Regions from separate parts of the Homo sapiens genome. Here all the other regions are linked to region 2. Evidence: promoter capture Hi-C in 16 types of primary human blood cells and fetal thymus (Javierre and others, 2016). All regions are on one chromosome and are shown on one strand. Each heading gives the region's core, a stretch centred on a gene start or on the middle of the fragment in contact. The rest is flanking DNA. Distances are from core to core; before and after follow the strand shown. Region 1 overlaps PIGL (phosphatidylinositol glycan anchor biosynthesis class L). Region 2 holds the start of ZSWIM7 (zinc finger SWIM-type containing 7). Region 3 holds the start of CENPV (centromere protein V). Region 4 overlaps TRPV2 (transient receptor potential cation channel subfamily V member 2). Region 5 overlaps ZNF286A (zinc finger protein 286A).

The links. Contacts are between HindIII fragments. The CHiCAGO score rates a contact against its expected background, and 5 or more counts as called.
Region 1: a fragment that was not itself captured here is called in contact with the fragment with the promoter of ZSWIM7 in region 2 in 1 of 17 cell types (erythroblasts); the score reaches 6.3 in erythroblasts.
Region 3: a contact is called between the fragment with the promoter of CENPV here and the fragment with the promoter of ZSWIM7 in region 2, in 3 of 17 cell types (activated CD4 T cells, total CD4 T cells and total B cells). The highest score is 9.7, in activated CD4 T cells.
Region 4: a fragment that was not itself captured here is called in contact with the fragment with the promoter of ZSWIM7 in region 2 in 2 of 17 cell types (naive CD8 T cells and fetal thymus); the score reaches 6.3 in naive CD8 T cells.
Region 5: a contact is called between a fragment that was not itself captured here and the fragment with the promoter of ZSWIM7 in region 2, in 1 of 17 cell types (activated CD4 T cells). The highest score is 5.4, in activated CD4 T cells.

What each region holds. Positions count from the first base shown.
Region 1 is chr17:16,284,719-16,287,418 of GRCh38, forward strand. The region is part of intron 2 of PIGL (phosphatidylinositol glycan anchor biosynthesis class L); the gene reads left to right. Among named protein-coding and RNA genes, the nearest start is that of MIR1288, 4.1 kb to the left of the region's middle. RefSeq lists enhancers at 1,025-2,014, 1,179-1,228, 1,277-1,571. The HindIII fragment of the contact is 1,785 bases long and covers 447-2,231 here.
Region 2 is chr17:15,998,295-16,000,994 of GRCh38, forward strand. It overlaps ZSWIM7 (zinc finger SWIM-type containing 7), which reads right to left and starts at 1,410. Exons shown (of 5, transcript NM_001042697.2): 1 at 1,225-1,410. The coding sequence starts at 1,300. It overlaps TTC19 (tetratricopeptide repeat domain 19), which reads left to right and starts at 1,530. Exons shown (of 10, transcript NM_017775.4): 1 at 1,530-1,738; 2 at 1,824-1,951. The coding sequence starts at 1,555. RefSeq lists silencers at 984-1,143, 1,494-1,883 and an enhancer at 1,284-1,373. The HindIII fragment of the contact is 18,071 bases long and covers 1-2,700 here.
Region 3 is chr17:16,352,064-16,354,763 of GRCh38, forward strand. It overlaps CENPV (centromere protein V), which reads right to left and starts at 1,406. Exons shown (of 5, transcript NM_181716.3): 1 at 964-1,406. The coding sequence starts at 1,373. RefSeq lists silencers at 796-1,405, 1,466-1,615. The HindIII fragment of the contact is 31,801 bases long and covers 1,003-2,700 here.
Region 4 is chr17:16,432,677-16,435,376 of GRCh38, forward strand. TRPV2 (transient receptor potential cation channel subfamily V member 2) reads left to right here. Exons shown (of 15, transcript NM_016113.5): 13 at 898-1,022; 14 at 2,214-2,293. Among named protein-coding and RNA genes, the nearest start is that of SNHG29, 5.0 kb to the right of the region's middle. The HindIII fragment of the contact is 9,614 bases long and covers 1-2,700 here.
Region 5 is chr17:15,706,560-15,709,259 of GRCh38, forward strand. It overlaps ZNF286A (zinc finger protein 286A), which reads left to right. Exons shown (of 6, transcript NM_001130842.2): 5 at 1,596-1,688. It overlaps ZNF286A-TBC1D26 (ZNF286A-TBC1D26 readthrough (NMD candidate)), which reads left to right. Exons shown (of 23, transcript NR_171000.1): 5 at 1,596-1,688. Among named protein-coding and RNA genes, the nearest start is that of ZNF286A-TBC1D26, 8.2 kb to the left of the region's middle. The HindIII fragment of the contact is 482 bases long and covers 1,171-1,652 here.

The sequences.
Region 1 (2,700 bases), core at 89-2,588, 290 kb after region 2:
ACTCCTCACTAACTGGCTTCCCCCAACCTACCAAGTTGTCCTTAAAAACTCTGATTCCAGAATGCTACGGGAGACTGATTTGAGTAATAATAATACTCCGGTCTCCATTACAGCTGGCTCTGCATGAATTAATTACAGCCGGCTCTGCATGAATTAATTACTCTTTCTCTATTGCAATTCCCGTGTATTGATAAATCGACTCTGTCTAGGCAGCAGGCAAGGTGAACCCACTGGGTGGTTACAACATTAGATAGCAAATTGGCAATTAAAGAATATATCTGTAGAGACAGGATCTTACTAATGTTGCCCAGCTGGTCTTAAACTCCTGGCCTCAAGCAGCCCTCCCACCACCTCAGCCTCCCAAAAGGCTGAGATTACAGGGGTGAGACACCACACCTGGCCAAATTGGCAATTTTTGAAGAAAGATTTCTCACAAGGACTTTGCAAGCTTTATGTACTTTATTTGTTGCAATAATATGAAATGCATCTTTCTGGGAAGGAGAACACAGGTAACTGATTTCAGTGTAATACCTAGCACTCATGCCTTGCTAATCCTTTTTATATCCTATGAGAAAGGAAAAATCCAGGCCGGGCGCGGTGGCTCAAGCCTGTAATCCCAGCACTTTGGGAGGCCAAGGCAGGTGGATCACGAGGTCAGGAGTTCAAGACCAGCCTGGCCAAGATGGTGAAACCCCATTTCTACTAAAACTACAAAAATTAGCCAGGCGCGGTGGCAGGTGCCTGTAATCCCAGCTACTGGGGATGCTGAAGCAGGAGAATCACCTGAACCCGGGCGGCAGAGGTTGCGCCACTGCTCTCCAGCCTGGGCGACAGAGTGAGGCTCTGTCTCCAAAAAAAAAAAAATCCATTTTATGGTTAGATTTGGGGGCTTCAAGCCGTATGTGGAAAAGGCTCTCTTAGGGCATTTGGTCTGTCTGGGCTCCTAAGCTGCTTAGAAATGAGGTCCTTATCACAGCAGATACTTAATAAAAGTGCACTGATCTTTATATACCTCTTTTTTCAGTCCTTTTTCTTTTTCTCAGATCGCCTTTTCCTTCTCTTACTTATCTTTTCCCCTATTTCTTTTCTCTGCGTATGGCTTAGGTTAGTCCTTGGCGGTGCAGAGACACCCCCCAGAAGTTGTTGGACCCTGCTGCAACCTCCCTGCAGCTTAGACTTCATTTCTTCACACTCCTGTATTTGGAGCAGCGACGCTAGTGCCAGGCCCTCAGACCAGGAGACAGTTGCTGCCTCCCACAGTGGCCCTTGGGGGGCGATATTGGCAGTCCCAGGTTAGGCTTCCACGTCCTTGGCTAGCCTTAAGGTTAGCTCTGAACTCTACTGACCTTTGCTCGCTTTGGATGACAAAGGAAATGATCGAGTTTAGAGATGGGCCAGAGGTGGGTGGAGGGGTGGCTGAACCTTCCGGCTTGCGCTGTACAAGCCACAAGACCAAATAAGGGCGTGTGAGCCGCCTCCGTCTGTATTAAAGTTCAGAGTGCAGTGTGCAAAAGTGGGACTCGGTTTTCAGAGATAAGCTGTTACCCAACCCTGCTTGAGTTCCAGCAGCGGAGGCTGCGAAGTCTCCTGCTCTGAGCAGGGCTGGGTCTGGGGGAGAAAGACCTGGGCCCCTGGGCTTGCTTAGCTGGGGAGAGGAAAGAAGGGGGGCTTCCCTCACCAGCACCTGGTGACTGAACGGACCCACAACCCCACAGATTTTCACAAAGGGTTTCCATGACTCTCCCGACTAAAATGTGCCGGCCAGTGTGACTCATTAGAATGTGTAGGAAAGGTCACTGTTTGAGGATATTCAGCCAGTGGGGGAAAAAACCACAACGTTATTTTAATGAACGCTTTTAGCCTGGCTTGTTTCCTGAACATTAAGGTCTAGGGCGGGACTTCGAGTTTGGGGCCTTTTCCAGAGGTATTAACACTGTGTTTGCTAAATACACCCCAGGGAAGGAGTCGTCGGGCTTCTACGAGTCACACTTAAAAGACTGGCAAGAGTTGGCTTCTTCTGTTGTGTTCTTAGCTTCCAAAATAGTAGTCTCTCCTCAGAGCCAGACGCGCAATGCCATCATGTTAATGAGGTGCCTCATGTGCTTCAATAGCCACTGACTGATGGTACCCCGAACCTGCCTGGATTCCTCACCTCTTCCCCTGCCCATCTCTCCTTCCCGCAGCAAACTGCTCATCCTGCAGCAGTCCGAACCTCTGCCTCATTGGCCCTAAGCTTCCTAAGGGAAGGGACCATGACTTGTATTCATGTTTATATCCCTAAAACTCAGCCCTCTGTTTGGCACATAGTGTGTGCTTAGTCCAGATCACTTAAATGTACAATGATTTCATTCTCTCGGAGCCCCGCTCTGGTGGTGTGGGTCCCTGGGGACCCCTCCAGATGCCTTTCTCCAGCCATGGCTGCGCAGGCACCGAGAAGCCGCAGGCTGGTTCCAGCTCACAGCCTCTCGCCTCAGGCCCACACTGCTCCTCCTGCTGTCTGCCCCAGGGCTTGCGATTGCCCGGGGGTCCCCAAGCGGGCTCAACTCTGAAAGATTAGAGAGCTAACAGCCTATGGAGATAAATACTTCCTTCTTTATCTTCCTGGGAAGATGGACAGTTGTAAGATGATTTTCTTACAACTTTCAGACAGTCCTGTGGGAACACACAGCCAGTGCCCATAAGTAGGGCCACATCAGTAGA
Region 2 (2,700 bases), core at 160-2,659:
TGAATACTTGGCTGCACTAATCTTTCAAGCACATATACTTAAGTCTCCTTAATTTTGACTGAGATGAGGAAACAAAGTTGGCTTATTTTTCTCAGTTCCTTAAAAACAGTAACTCAAGATAAACCCTTTCAAAATGCAGTACAGTACTTTTAAAACAAAAGCCATCCAAGTTGAATAAGCGATGGCAGTTTGGGGGCCTGATATGGCTGTTATTTATAAGGTGGCCATTTTTACATCCTAAGAGTAGTTCATTAGTCAATGCATTTTGAGTATATCAAATTTGATTTGATCTTATCCTAGCATACTCTGAACACATCTTGAGATCAACCCTTCTCAAGTGATTTTGGTGAGCATAGCCAAAGAGTACCCTCTGCTGGTCAGAAAAAAAATGGTGCTTTCACAATACCCAGATTTACTCCAACGATTGCATATGCATTTAGGTTTTGTGGCTCTTAAAATGCTTTTTTTTTTTTTTTTGAGATGGAATTTCGCTCTTGTTGCCCAGGCTGGAGTGCAATGGCGCGATCTCGGCTCACGGCAACCTCCGCCTCCCGGGTTCAAGCGATTCTCCTGCCTCAGCCTCCTGAGTAGCTGGAATTACAGGCGCCCGCCACCACGCCCAGCTAATTTTTTGTATTTTTAGTAGAGACGAAGTTTCACCATGTTGGCCAGGCTGGTCTCGAACTCCTGACCTTAGGTAATCCAACTGCCTCGGCCTCCCAAAGTGCTGGGATTACGGGAGTGAGCCACTGCGCTGGGCCTACTTTTTAAAGTGTATGGAAGCATTAACTTTAATGTTAACATCAGAATTTGAGAAAAAGAAGTTTAATAATTCAAAATTTCGTGTAAAATAATCAAGAACTCCACGTTTCTATCACTCACTGTAGGCTCCCGTCCCTTCCACCCCCGGGCGGGGACCCCTCCCAGCGACCCGGCCAGCTCTCAGCACTTCGGTCCCCACTGGCCTACTCGCTCCGACGGAGGGGCTCCTGCAACTGCGCTGTACCGTAAATATTTGCTGAATCGATTTGACTTTTACTTGTTCCAATTTCGCTTTTTTGTTGTTTTGTTTTTTTGTCTTTTTACGAACAAGAGGTTTAGAGAACCACATGGAAAAAAGGCAGGGCCAGGCCCGGACACCCCGCCTCCTGCCTCCCGGCCCGGCGGTGCCCGGATGCCCCGCCCGCGCCCATGGCGCAGCCACACACGACCTCGGTCCCGTACTTCGCGCGCTCTCCTGCACCGCCGCCGCCATCTCGCTCAGGAGCTCCTCCACAACCGCCGGCAACACTACGGCCATCGCGCCGCAGGACACGCCCTCCACGACCGGCGGACCGCCGCGACGCTCCAGCTGACTGCGCCTACCTGTGGAGGATCCTGACCCCCCGCCGGGGCAGGGCGAGACGGAGTGACGTCGGGGCGCGTCATCGCGCGTGCGGACGCAGGGATGTCCTGCTCAGTCGTCAGGGCCCGGCCAATCCGGAGGGCGCTCGGCGCGTGGTCGGGGGCCAGGAGCGCGTCTGGCCTGCAGTGCGCAGAGGACGCGGCGGGAGCATGTTCCGGCTCCTGAGCTGGAGCCTGGGCCGAGGCTTCCTGCGGGCCGCGGGGCGGCGGTGCCGGGGCTGCTCCGCGCGCCTGCTCCCGGGGCTGGCAGGAGGTCCGGGGCCCGAGGTGCAGGTGCCGCCATCCCGAGTCGCGCCGCACGGCCGGGGCCCAGGCCTGCTGCCGCTGCTGGCAGGTGAGGGGCGCGGGCCGGGCGGGGCCGGCCGGGCGGGGACAGGGGCGCGGGCCGGGCCCGATGACCTCAGAGCCCCTTCCCGCAGCGCTCGCCTGGTTCTCGAGGCCCGCTGCGGCAGAGGAGGAGGAGCAGCAGGGAGCCGACGGGGCCGCTGCCGAGGACGGGGCGGACGAGGCCGAGGCAGAGATCATCCAGCTGCTGAAGCGAGCCAAGGTGAGGCGGCTCCGGGCCCTGCGCCCGGCCGAGCGCGGTAGCCTTTGTGAGCGGGGTCTTGGCGTTGCTGCGCATTACTCTCTCCGCCTCGCCGAAGAGTGGATGGAGGCTCCGCGGGTAAAATTGCCGAGAATGAGGTGGGTCATCCGAGAGGGGATTGGAATCCATCCAGGCTTTTCCGACTCTAAGGCCTGCAGTAAAACCTCTGCAGTGTCAAGTGCAAATGGAGATGGCGCCCTAGGCATCACGCTTTATGCAAACGAAATATCGGGAACGTTTTGTAGTGGTTTTATCAATTAACCAGCCTATCTGAAATGACATAATTTCGCACGTATATAGCGGCCTGAAAATGGCAACTTAGTGTTGGTTATGCGGTTCGGTTCTCCTCCTGAATTCTTCCTTTTCTCCACATCCTTTTCTATTTTTTTTTCCTCCTCTTTTCCCAAGTTATCTCATCTCTTCCATTGAGCTAAATACCTACTCGATGCCAACAACGTCCAAATTTGTATTTCCATTCTGTAGTGTGCTACTGACATGCCATTTGCACTTTAGGACCATACCTACCTCTCAGATTTAACATGCCCAAAACTAAACGATCTTTAATGCCTCCTCAACATACGCTTTCGCCATCTCTTTACTACCATCAGTTTTTCAGCCTAAAAACCTCATAGTCATTCTTAAAACTTGTGGTACCTTACCATTGCCTTCCAATACACTTACAGTCCAGCAACAAGTCCTGTTGCCAACAA
Region 3 (2,700 bases), core at 156-2,655, 350 kb after region 2:
GAACATGTTCAAGAAAAGAAGTAATTCTCAGGTTATGCAATTGCTAGGTTATTCTTGTCGGTTTTTTCCCCCTAGTGTTTTGATTGTTCTTTTTAATTCGTAAAATTGACACTGAAATATAATATCAGGGCGTTAAAATATCTCTCTGTAGCACAACTGTTCCCCGAGGCAGGAATCCAGATCGCATTTGGAGAAAAGAAGGCAGCCCTTTAACAGCCCAGTTAAAAGCTCTTTCCCAAATCGCGGACACTCGAGATGCTCCTCGGGCCATCTAAAAGACTGCGGAGCAGCCAGGAGGGCGAGCGGCAGGGAGCATTAGCTGGCTGAGCACATAAAAGCCTCCCTACGTAGGTATCCCCGCCGCCGCGCGAGGCCGGAGCATCTCTTCGCGCGCGCTTCTCTCCCGGATCAATAACCTCCGCCCCCTGCTCCCTCCCTGGCAGTGCCTGGAACAATGACGGGATTTTGCTTCCCAGTGAGTTCAAAACTATTCATGCTTCCTTCAACGCTTCTACCTTTCCCTTCCACCCACCCTCAAAAACACGTGTGCAAACACAAAAAAAAAGGGGATTCGGGTAAGAGAAAGCCGTGGGATTTATGTTCTTTTCACTAAGAAAGGCCCCCACACCCTTTGCGCGCCAGCAAGAGACAACGTCCCCGAGCACGATGCTTATGGCCGGGAAAGACTCTTTGTGTCCCAAGACGGCTGCGCGCGCCCTCAAGCTCCGGACGAAGCCCCCTTTCCATTCCCAGGCCACACAGCCCTAGAAGCACCGCCCCGCCCCGCCGCCCTTAGAATTAAGGAATAACCCCAGTGCTAACGGGGGAGCCGCGTCGGCTCCGTAACGTGGAAGGCTCAGAGCTGAAAGGCGCCCAAGGCCTGCACGCGGGCTGCGAGCCCGACTCCTGCCGAGGGGGTCCGCGTGGCAACGGCTCCCGCGCCCCCCGGCCCGCCGCACTCACAAGGTGTCTAGCAGGAGCTTGGCGGCACCCTCGGAGGTAAGCTTCTGCCGCTTCTGGAACGTCTCCCAGCGCTCCCGCTGCTCGCCCAGGTCCAGGTTGGACGCCGAGGACGTCGGGGTCGCGGGAGTCGGCGGCGGCGGCGGCGGTGGCGGGAGCAACGCCAGCTCAGGCGGCGGCGGCTCCCCCGGGCCCTCCTCCTGGGCCCGCGGCGACGAGCGCCTCAGCCGCGGCTTCTCCGACGGCGGCTTCTCCACCGCCTGGCTCTTGCTCCCGGCCTGGCTAGCGGAGCGCCGTGTGCGGGTGGCGCTGGGTGCCAAGGCAGCGGCCGCGGAGGCCGCGGGGGCCGCGGAGGCCCCGGACCGCTTCTGCCCGCGCAGCTTGGCGGCCGCAGAGCTCCTCGATCGCCGCATGGCTCCCGCAGCCTGGCGCGCAGGCCTCGCAGCGCGGCGCGCCCCCGCCGGCCTGCGCGCGCCCCCGCCGCCCGCCAGTCTTCAGGCCCAGGGGGCGCTGCGCCCGGCTGCCCCGCTCCGCCAGCCGCGCCCCGCAGCGCGGCGCCTGCCCGCAGGAGGGAGACCCGGCCCGCCCGGCCGCTGGGACGCACCTGCCTGTTCAGTCCCGCAGGCAGAGGGGCTGCGCCTGGGCCTACGCTCGCGATACCCAGAATCCACTCGCACCTGCGAAGGCGCCCCTGCCCTGTGTGAATCCAGCGGGCTCTTCGTACCTTCCCGACCTGGAGGGGCCTGGGTTGGGCCTGAATTCGCAGGCTCATCCGAGCGGGCAGCCTGGGGTAACTTCGTCTCCAAAAACGAGCTAATTTGTGTAAACGGCCTGCCACCTGCTACCTCCTGTGTAACAGCGGCCGAAACCATAGTTCTTCACCTTCGTCTTTTCTGTCACATTATAGAACAGTGTCATGAGGATACCAATAGTCAACAGATTTGGGGTTTCATTTTAATTAAATGAATGACCCGCGCGTCGAATTTCATTAGTATGATTTTGATGAAGGCAGCACCAAAGTTTAAAGACAAAAGGCACGAGAATCGTTGATGGAACCCAGATAGTCTTCTTCTCCTTCTCCTTCTTCTTCTTTTTTCAGACCGAGTTTCGCTCTTGTTGCCCAGGCTGGAGTGCAGTGACGCGATCTCGCCTCACCGCAACCTCCGCCTCCCAGGTTCAAGCGATTCTCCTGCCTCAGCCTCCTGAGTAGCTGGGATTACAGGCATTCGCCACCACACCCGGCTAATTTTGTATTTTTAGTAGAGACGGGGTTTCACCATGTTGGTCAGGCTGGTGCCGAATACTCCCGACCTCAGGTGATCCATCCGCCTCGGCCTCCCAAAGCGCTGGGATTACAGGCCTGAGCCACCGGGCCCAGCCTATCTTTCTTTTTTTTTTTTTTTTTTTTTTCTTTTTTGGAGTCTCACTCTGTCGCCAGGCTGGAGTGCAGTGGCGCGATCTCGGTTCACGCAACCTCCGCCTCACCGTTCCAGCGATTCTCCTGCGTCAGCCTATCTTTCTTCTTTATTCTGATTTTCTTCATGGTATTGTTAGTTTAATAGTTTATTGAATTAAAGGCATAGTTTAACTATTTTGTCTTTTTTTTTTTTTTTCCATACAGGATCTGACAGACTGGAGTGCAGTAGCGGGATCTCGGCTCAGTGTAGCCAAGAACTCCTGGCCTCAAGCGATCCTGCCGCCTGGGCCTCTGGAGTAGCTGAGTAGCTGGAACAACAGGCG
Region 4 (2,700 bases), core at 1-2,500, 430 kb after region 2:
GCCTCCCAAAGTGCTGAGATTACTCCCACCTCCTTTAAGCTCATAGATGTACTTAGGACAGTGCCCAGCACCAAGCAGGTGCTCAATGTGCTACCAGCTACTCTTATCATCATTGCTGTCCAGTGTTTCTTTTTTTTTTTTTTTTGAGTCAAGAGTTTTGCTCTTGTTGCCCGGGCTGGAGTGCAATGGTGCAATCTTGGCTCACTGCCACCTTTGTCTCCTGGGTTCAAGCGATTCTCCTGCCTCAGCCTCCCAAGTACCTAGGATTACAGGCATGTGCCACCACACCCCACTAATTTTTTGTATTTAGTAGAGATAAGGTTTCACCATGTTGGTCAAGCTGGTCTTGAACTCCTGACCTCAGGTGATACACCTGCCTCGGCCTCCCAAAGTGCTGGCATTACAGGCATGAGCCACCATGCCCCACCCTGCTGCCAATTCATTGTTGATCTTGGGGAAGCCCCTTATCTCCTCTGAGCCTTGGTGCCCTCCTCTGCAAGGTTCTGTGCCCCACCTGACTCACTGGTGTGCCTCTGGGCAGGCACATGTGTGGGGTGAGCAAATGAAGTTCTGTTCCTGGTGGTGTGGCAATCTGGAGCCTGGAACGATGTAAGAGCAAGTAGCTGTCCAGTACTCATAAGGTACAGACTTCCCATCAGCTGTCTGAGGCACTTTGTCCTCAGTCTACAAATGGGGAAACTGAGATGCAGAGAGGCTGAGGGCCCAACCCCACACAGGTAACCGGATGTTGGAGCCAGATTCGAATCCGCGTGTTTAGTTGACTTCGCGTTATACTGTGAAGTGCTGCGCGGCACTTCCCTGCTCCGCTTGCCTTGTGTGCCTTTGCCCCCAGGCAGGGTCCCAGGACGTTCTGTCTGATGCATCCTTTGTCCCCAGAAAGCCATCTCTGTCCTGGAGATGGAGAATGGCTATTGGTGGTGCAGGAAGAAGCAGCGGGCAGGTGTGATGCTGACCGTTGGCACTAAGCCAGATGGCAGCCCCGATGAGCGCTGGTGCTTCAGGTGAGTGAGTGGTGGGAGGGTCTCCTGGGGGCCTTGCTGTCCAGCAATCCCTGGGGCCCCCCTGCAGTGCAGGGCACAGCTGCCAGGAGCCAGGTCTGGTGGGAAGGGCAGGCCCAAAGAGCACCAGGGACTGAGCCTGAGCAGGTGAGGTCAGGGGTCTGGATCTCACAAGCCATGGCTGCCACATGACTGGCCATCTGCCTGTCCCAGTGGCTTAAACTGAAGGTCCCCTCCTGGTGATCTCAGACTCCTCCTTGTAGCCTGAAATGTGTTACGGTAAGGAGGCCAAGAAGTCAGAGGGACCCTTGGGTTGCTAGCACTCTAGCATTGCCCTGGCTGCTCTGTGTCCCCCCACCCCCAATTCTGCCAGCCTGATCTCTGAGCTACAACCCCTTCCATGGAGAACATGCCCTTCTGTGTCCAGGAAAGGCTGGGACACTGGGAGAGGGAACCTAGTGACAAACACACAGCTAAAAACAGACACTGTCGGCCGGGTGCAGTGGCTCATGCCTGTAATCCCAGCACTTTGGGAGGCCGAGGCGGGCAAATCACGAGGTCAGGAGATCGAGACCATCCTGGCTAACACAGTGAAACCCCATCTCTACTAAAAATACAAAAAAGTAGCCGGGCGTGGTGGCGGGCGCCTGTAGTCCCAGCTACTCAGGAGGCCGACGCAGGAGAATGGCATGAACCTGGGAGGCGGAGCTTGCAGTGAGCTGAGATCGCACCACTGCACTCCAGCCTGGGCGACAGAGCGAGACTCCATCTCAAAAAAAAAAAAAAAAAGAAAACAACAGCAACAAAAAAAACAGACACTGTCGTGAGGCAGCAGATGAGCAGAGAGACGGAGTCTTGGGCATGAGGAGCAGCCATGATAGGCCCCAGAACCCGGAAGCACAGATACACCTGATCTGAATTCCTCTTCTCTGGTTGTTCTGGGCAACCCAGGCTGCTGTGAACAGCCAGAAGCGATGGATGCTGATTCCTGCAAGTGAGCACCTGCCTCACAGGACAGGGCTCCAAGTGGGTGGCCCAGAACCCTGCAGAGAAAAAGCCTGTCCTCCTCAGGGCCTCTGTGTCCACCAGAGCATCTCTGCATAGTCTCCCAATTTGGGGGGCCACGCCCCTCTCCGGGGTGGGAGGGGAGGCGGTCAAAGCAGGCAAACCTCAGAGCTGCTCTGTTGCCCTCAGGGTGGAGGAGGTGAACTGGGCTTCATGGGAGCAGACGCTGCCTACGCTGTGTGAGGACCCGTCAGGGGCAGGTGTCCCTCGTGAGTAGCCTGGTGACTAGAGCCTCTGCCCTGGGGTGTGTGTCTCTGCTGCTTGGCCACAAAGCCTTGGAGAGTCTGGGGCAGGACCCAGAGACCTCCTCATAGTCCCTTTGCAGATCCCCACATGCCAGCTCCTCTTAGAGGGATTGCCTCCTTAAAACAGTGGTTCCCTCCTTTCCTTTCCACCCACACCTTGCTTTCAGGCAGGAACCAGGGGAAACCTCTGAGGCTGTTAGCGCTTCCACCAGCCCAGCCTCTGGCTGCCCTCTCTCTGATGCCAGTCAGTCACACCCTTTGCCCATTCAATTGGTTATCGAGGGTCTGTCCCCAGCCAGGCCTGGGCTGAGCCTGGGGACTCAGCAGGGGAATAAGTTAGGAAGGGCTGTGTCACAGCGCAGCCTACAACA
Region 5 (2,700 bases), core at 162-2,661, 290 kb before region 2:
GTGAAATAGCTTAACAAAGCCTTCACCTTTGCATTCAGGAGTCAAAAAGTGTTAATTCTTTTTGGCCTGTGTAGAAAATCTGTTTTTGCTCTAGATTCTTGATGAAATGTCTGTGCTTGTTTTGTATCAGTATTCTTTGGGTTTAAGTGACAGAAACTTAACTCACACTCTTAAAGGGGAAAAAAATTTTGATTTTTCAGAGATCCAAATATATTATCAAGAATTTCCTTTATTCATTGATTTATTTTTAATCAATTAGCTTGGTTTTGCTCTGTATTAGCTTTATTCCTAGGATTTCCCCATGTGGCAAAGATGGCCAGTGGCAGTCCCAGGGTTACGTTATTCTTCCAGTTAGATAGCAAAGCTAAAAAAGAAAATGCTTCTTTCCTGGGAGTTTCAGCAAATAAGGTCACAGGCCCATCAGTGAAACAATCTCTAGAGCCAGCGAGATTGAGTACTCTGTGGCCAGTTTTAGATCCTGGGCTTACTAGCATGCACGCATACACACATGCATGCATATGATTGTATGAGGGGTGGAGGGGACTGTTAGCCCCTCCCAAACCTTATGTAAAAAAATCCCCTAAGAAAGTGACTTCTGAGGCCGGGCGCGGTGGCTCACGCCTGTAATCCCAGCACTTTGGGAGGCCGAGGCGGGTGGATCACGAGGTCAGGAGATCGAGACCATCCTGGCTAACACGGTGAAACCCCATCTCTACTAAAAACACAAAAAATTAGCCGGGTGCGGTGGCGGGCGCCTGTAGTCCCAGCTACTCGGGAGGCTGAGGCAGGAGAATGGCATGACCCCGGGAGGCGGAGCTTGCAGTGAGCCGAGATTGCGCCACTGCACTCCAGCCTTTTTGTAAGACTCTGTCTAAAAAAAAAAAAAAAATTAAAAAAGAAAGTGACTTCTAATAACTGAAGAAGGAAAGGAAAAACATTAGAAGATAAAACTTCAGTTACCACCGTTACAGTTATGTGGTGCTGCCATTGAGGTCCCGCTTTTTCCTCCTTTCCTGAGGTAAGGACTAATTTGCAACATCTCTCTGAAGTTTCCTCACACAATAAGGAAATAAAGAGAAATTCCTTTCTTTTCTGACAGTTGAAAATATTTGTATTTTCCAAATCCAATTGAACTCCTTACCAGGCCCAGACTCTTGCTGCAGATATTTAAGCTTCATTTAGAGGTCCACCCTCCCTTACTTCAGCTCTTCCTGTAATACTTTGTAGATCAAGAGGTTGAGACCATATTCCGGTTTAGATCTTTATACCCATTACAAATAACTAAGTCCAGCAGGACGGTGGCCATGAAAGTTGGTCGTGGTGGCTCACACCTGTAATCCCAGCACTTAGGGAGGCAGAGGTGGGAGGATAGCTTGAGCCCCGGAGTTCGAGACCTGCCTGGGCAATATAGTGAGATCCCATTAACTTTAAAAATAAAAAATAAAAAGTAAATTTTTATAAATTAAAAAAAAAGAAAGAAAGTTGGAATTCACTAAGGAATATGTAACAATTCAACTGGCTTGAAGAAAACTTCCACAAATAACTTACTCCCATTACTTTCTTCTTTCTGTCTTTTTCTTTTTTTAAATGAATAGGGCTTCCAGTTTCCAAACCTGAGAGCTACAACTTGGAGAATGGAAAAGAACCATTGAAGCTTGAGAGAAAAGCCCCCAAAAGCAGCTATTCAGGTGAGCCAGATAGATGGGAGTCTTCATAAATGATAGCCCAGCAGGACAATGAAGAAATACTTTTCAGTGCTTAAGAAAGTGCCTGTGTGCCCTTATTTTTAAATTTTTTTAAAATTCTAAAGCATTTAAAATATATACAGAAGTCCAGAAAATAAAATAACATTCATGTATCCATCACTGAGATTAGACACGTACTAATATTTTGCTTCGTTTGCCTCTTTTCTTTCTTCCTTTCTTTTTCTTACAATATAAAACTAATAATTATACAGTTGGATGAATTTTCACTAATTTAGCACATTCATGTAACGATTGCCCAAATCAAGAAAATAGCCTTACCAGCGCCTCTAGAAGCACCGGTGTGCCCTGTTTCAGGACCCTCCCTTCTCCCAAGGGTCACCTTATCCTAACTTATAGCACCAAGTTTTGACGGTTCTTGAACTTTCTATAAATGGAATCATATTGTATATACTCTTGTGTCTGGCTTCCTTCACTGCACATTAGCTGTGAGATACATCTTTGTTGCTGCATATCATCATAATTTATTCATTATCATTGTATAATTTTTTGTTTTGTTAATATACCCAGTTTATTCTTCTGAAGATGAGTATTTGGATAGTTTCCAGTTTTTAGCTGTCTGAATAATGCCACTATGTACACTTTTTAAATGCCTTTTGGTGAACAAATATATGCATTTCTTCTGGATATATACATACAAGTAGACTTGTTTTATCAGAGGATAGATACATACTCACTTTTGGTAGATAGTGCCAAAGAGGTTTCTAGAGTCATTGTACCAATTACATTCCTAGCAGCAGAGTATGTGCGTTCTAGTTGTTCCACATGCTTGTCAACACTTAATATTGCTTGTTTTCATTTTAGCCATCCTTTTGAGGTGTGTGATGTCTTTTATTTTTTAAGAAATAAAAATATTACATATTCAGTTAAAGCCCTTTTATTCTCAGCTGGGTGTGGTGACTCACGCCTGTAATCCCAGCACTTCGGGAGGCCAAGG